Regions from separate parts of the Homo sapiens genome. Here region 2 is linked to region 1. The links are contacts of gene promoters, found by promoter capture Hi-C in human tissues and cell types (Jung and others, 2019). All regions are on one chromosome and are shown on one strand. Each heading gives the region's core, a stretch centred on a gene start or on the middle of the fragment in contact. The rest is flanking DNA. Distances are from core to core; before and after follow the strand shown.

What was found. The method cuts DNA at HindIII sites, captures the fragments that hold promoters and counts their contacts. A contact is called where the count stands out against the background at its distance.
Region 2: a fragment that was not itself captured here is called in contact with the fragment with the promoter of MED12L in region 1 in 1 of the 25 tissues and cell types used here (bladder).

What each region holds. Positions count from the first base shown.
Region 1 is chr3:151,084,350-151,086,940 of GRCh38, forward strand. It overlaps MED12L (mediator complex subunit 12L), which reads left to right and starts at 1,315. Exons shown (of 45, transcript NM_001393769.1): 1 at 1,315-1,587; 2 at 2,449-2,591. The coding sequence starts at 2,578. RefSeq lists silencers at 967-1,336, 1,773-2,067. The HindIII fragment of the contact is 7,662 bases long and covers 1-2,591 here.
Region 2 is chr3:151,398,325-151,400,915 of GRCh38, forward strand. The region is part of intron 39 of MED12L (mediator complex subunit 12L); the gene reads left to right. Among named protein-coding and RNA genes, the nearest start is that of P2RY12, 15 kb to the left of the region's middle. The HindIII fragment of the contact is 5,079 bases long and covers 1-2,591 here.

The DNA.
Region 1 (2,591 bases), core at 65-2,564:
GAGCTTGCAGTGAGCCGAGATCTCGCCACTGCACTCCAGCCTGGGCGACAGAGCGAGGCTCTGTCTCAAAAAACAACCAACCAACCAAACAAAGAAAACAACAACAACAAAAAACTGTCCTTTCTTTCAAACAAGGGAGCTACATTTGATAGATGCCTGTATCACAAGGGCAAGTCCAGCCATGAAATTAATCCCAGGATATTAGTGGAAGAGAAGACCCTGGGGCAAGATGGGGAAGGTGGTCAGGAAATGCCCTCCAGTGAAGTTAGGTAAATGCTCTCTAGAAGTAATTGTTCAGATTAAGGAAGCCAAAAGCTAAACACCTGACTCAGCCTCAAACTGGGTTTGGAGGTGCTCACAGGTCAGGATCAGGAGTGAGGAACTAGCCTCTACCACATTACCTTCACTTTATTTATCTCCTTCTTCCCCCTTTGCTTAAATGTCAACGAACATCAAAGTTGATGTTCAGATTCAACCAGCATTTCCAGAGCACCTACTATGTATCAAAGGCTTCCGGTTAGAATCTGCCTTTACCACCTTACAGAGAGGGAAGGCCGAGAATGCCTCAAGCCGTGGAGAACGTGAGTCCATCAGGCAAGGACAGGTTAGGAACCCAGTCCCTCCAAGTCCAAGTCAGGGAAAACAGGTCAGAAACTTAGAATCAGTCGTGGGTTCAAATTCCGACTCGTTTCGTGGCTTTCGGCAAGTGAGTGGTCCTCTCTGAGCTGGCTCAATTTCTCCATCCATAAAAAGGGTACAGTAAGACCGTGGAAGGTTGTAAGGACCAGAGATTCTGACTATCAAGATCCTGGCACGTAGCGAAGGCTCCATAAATGGCAGCCATCATTCTTGGCCAAGTGCGGGCGCATTCTCCCGGGCACGCCTCCCGCGGGGTCCCTCAGGACAGGCCGAGCCCGCCTCCGCGGCTCCGGTCTCGCAGAGCTCGCGCCAGGTGGCCCAGCATCTTGGTGCCCGCGCCCCGAAGCGAGGAGCGAGGGCGGGTTGGATGACCAAGGTCTGCCCTGGAGGATCACCCCCCCCGCCCCTTCCACGCTCCCGGCGCAGGTGAGGTTTTCGGCCCAGGCCACGGGGACCGCGACCTCTGGGGAGGTCGAGGCGGAGGGTGCAGCGGGGGGCTTGGAGCAGGGCTCCAGAGGGCGCTCCCTCCCTCGCCCAGGTTCACCCCAGGGCCAGCCTCGGCGCCGGGGCCCGCGGGCTGCGCGCTCTGCGGCTGCGAAAACCCGGAGAGGCGGATTGGAGCGCGCTCACCGCGCTCTCAGCCAACTCCTCCGCGGTCCGGCCGCCGAGCTGGGCATGCTCAGTGCGGACGCCGCGCCGCCGTCCGCCAACTCGGAAGCTCGCGCTCCCGGGCCGTGGGGGCGAGAACGCCGGCGGCGAGCCGGCGTCGCTCGCCGCCCCCAGACAGTGGCAAACTTCGCGGCGTTCCCGGAGCTCGTCCGGGCGAGGCAGATACCGCACAAATAAAATCAAATCCAAGTCCCCCATCCCAACCCGAATGATGGAGGCTGCGGCGGCCGGAGTGACCCCGCCGCCGCCAGCCCCAGCCCGCTAGCCGCGGACCAACAGGTAAAGTGTTGGGGGTTGGGGGCGGAAGGGAAGAGGAGCTGGGGCCGTGGGGAGGCGGCGGGCTGGAGGAGCCCGAGACGCCTGCGGGCTGGCTGCCCCCGTCGGCGCTCACAGCCATCGCTCCTCACCCCCTTCCCCAGCCCCTGGAGGGACTGTAAAGGGTTAAGTCGGCCCCACGCCACCGTGAGCACGGCCCCCTCCAGCCGCCGCGACCGCCAGCAGCGCGCCTCGGCGCCTGCCCGGAGCCGCCGAGGGGACCGTAGCTGCGGATGCGCCACTGGAACCTGGCGGGCGTCTAGGAGGCACCGGCCGCTTCCCACCGGCCGCATCCCTGCGTCTCGCGCCCCCTCCAGACCTGCCTCTGCCTGCACTGGCCCGGTCCGTGTCCAGGTGGCGGGGTCTGCGGGGCGCGTGGCGGCGGGGGAAGGGTCCCTGCCGGGGAAGAGAGGCGGGGGCGGTCCGCTCCACAGCTTCTTCCCGGGAGGGGAGGGCCACCCTCGCCTTGGGCGAGCACTTCAGCCACCAGCCTAGGCGCCAAGAAAAGTTTTTTTTTTTTTTTTTCCAGTGCCCCACCCCCACCCCCATCCTGCGCCCAGCTGGGGTGGGTTTGGGTCCATTGGTGAAAAAAGTCACACGTTCCCATCAGCTGCTCCTCCCCCTGGAGACAAGGTAGGGGGGAGCAGAGGAGGCAGGCGCCGCGGAGGACCCTGGCCGACCTCTAGTCCCTCCGCCGCCGCCACCGGAGCGGTGCGTCCCGGGGCTCGAGCGCAGCCGAGTACCCGCCGAAGGCTGTCCCCATCAGTGCGTGTCTGCTGCCGGGCAGCGGCAGCATCCAACCTGCTTTATTCCTCCTGCCTGCAGCGCCACAGCGAGCGAGCGAGCGAGGAGGGGGAGAGAGGGAGTCTGTCTGCAAAGTGCTGCTCCCTGGTGCTCAGAGGCGGCTGCTCCAGCTCCAACTCTCATTCATTTCGCCGGTTAACATGAGAGATCATGGCCGCCTTCGG
Region 2 (2,591 bases), core at 54-2,553, 310 kb after region 1:
CTTATCCTCTTTCTGTCTAGTGGGGGAAGTTGGCATATGCAGAAACCATCCAGCCTTCAGTGATACACAATGAAAACTAGAATTCCATAAAATAACCCTCTAGTTCCACTGCAGAGATTGTACATGAGCTTCAGTCAGTCATGGAATATTCTGTCATGGATTGTCTTATATTTCCTCAGGAATGTGTTAAGACAGTGTTTAACACAGTACCTAGACAACAAGTGCTGAATAGCATGGATATTGTTAAGTATTTTAATGAGATTATTTGATGTAATAATTGTTATAATTGAGTATATTTCCCTATAGCTTTAGTGCATATGGACATGCAGAAAGATGTTTTGGCAAGAAACCTGTTTTCATTCTTCTTGGTTGCAGTCTTCATCTAGGAAAATACAGTAGTCCTATCACCCTGCTTATCCACAGGGAATATGTTGTAAGACCTTCAGTGATTGCTGAAACCACAGAGGACCAAACCTGATATGGACCATGTTTTTTCCTATGTATAGGTACCTATATGATAAAGTTTAATTTATAAATTAGGCTCAGTAAGATACTAACAATATCTTACTAATAGTAAAATAGAACAATTATACTGTAACAAACATGTAAATGTCGTCTTTTTCAAAATCCCTTACTGTGCTGTACTCACCTGTTTTCGGACTGCAGTTTTCTGCAGGTAACTGAAACTGTGGGAAGTGAAACCGCAGAGAAGTGGCGACTACTGAAAAAAAAGAACTATTTCTATTTCTTACTCAATATCCTGTATTTAGATGGGACTCAGTACAATGGTTACACTATCTTTCTGTGCCTCAGAGTCCCATCTATAAACTGGAGCTAATACTATACTGTACTTACTTTATAGGGTAGTTGTGAAGTTAATGATTAAGTATGTGTAAAACAGCCCTTAGAACAGTGGATGGCTCATAGTAAGTGCTCAAAAAGTGTTAGCTGTCATACTTATCGTTGCTGCTTATTAGTATTTTTATGGTTTGTTATTTCAAAAGAAATTCATTTCCCATAACAATATTATTTTCTTAAATATGTTAAGCTTTAAAATAAAAGCATATCAAATGGTTTACTTGTATAATTACATAAATTGCCATTAATAGGATTGGTTTAATCCTCATTTGCTTAGTGGTTACCAATAGAACAAACTCATAAAAAGGAATGTTGTTTTGTCATCCTAATTGTCATTTTAGCTTCTTAGAGTGGTGTGTTTTTGTTCTTTAAATACTGTGATACTTGAGAGACTTATTCCAATCTCAGTGTTAAAAGTATCACTGTATTTTATTTTTCACATATTCTGTTAGAACTATCACAGAATATAGAATATTGGTTATAATGCAAAATGCTGCTTTAATTATTTTCCACTCATTCCTTTCTTATACTCGGTATTTTTCTTTTGACAACAGGAACTTTTTTTCAGCTCACCTCACCATCCCCCTCACTCTATCGATCATCTAGGGAAGGAGCTTGCAGAAGGAATCTTAAGGAATTCCTTCTTTCTTTTTTTTTTTCTTGAGACAGGGTCTCCCTCTGTCGCCCAGGCTGGAGTGCAGCGGCCTAATCTCCGCTCATTGCAACCTCTGCTTCCCGGGTTCAAGCGATTCTCCTGCCTCAGCCTCCCGAGTAGCTGGGACTACAGGCATGCACCACCCCGCCTGGCTGATTTTTGTATTTGTAATAGAGACAGTGTTTTACCATGTTGGCCAGGCTGGTCTCGAACTCCTGACCTCAGGTGATCCACCTGTCTCGACCTCCTATAGTGCTGGGATTATAGGCGCGAGCCACCGCGCCAGGCCTTAAGGAACTTTCATACCCCTCACAATATCGACATCTAGGGAAGGGGCTTGCAGAAGCAATCTAAAGTTTTGACCCAGGAAAAGAACTTTATGCCTTGATTTATGGTGTTGCTTTATCCTGATTTTTTCTTTCAGTATATTAAATTATTTTATTTTTCTTTGTAATAATTCCAGACAGCATATTTTCAAGAGTCCAAAGAAGGATAGACAGAAGATATGTTTAGCTTGAATTGATTCAGACAAATTGGTTAAAAAATGCACTTGGTTATAGGCTCCATACAGATCATTAATCATAAGGATTTTTCAGGACAGAAAAGAGGAAGCTTCCTTTCAGAGGACAGGAATGTGTGCCCAGTTATAGCTAGTATATGTAGCGACCAGTACATGTAGCGACTTGTAAAGAGGTTAGGTTATCCACCGTGGAGCAGGTCCCATCATTTGTGTATCCAAATCAAGGAAATAGGTAATTTAAAGAATGAAGGATGACTGAGTCAGAACCTCCCAGAGCTGTTAGCTCCTTGGCAAAAATGAATCTGTGACTTCATGGGAACATGCTCTTGGATTACCATTTAAATTGAGTAATTACCCTTTGTTCGGTAATTGATCTCCCACCCTAAGGAAATGGTATCACCTTGGAATATGTTTATTTTCTCTATCCCTCCCACTCACTCTTTAATGGTATACATATTTCAAGCATAGAGACGAGAATAGAAAAAATGTAATAATCACTAATGCACTTACTAGCTTTATTAAATAATATTCTTCCATAATGCTGTAGATTATTTTTTT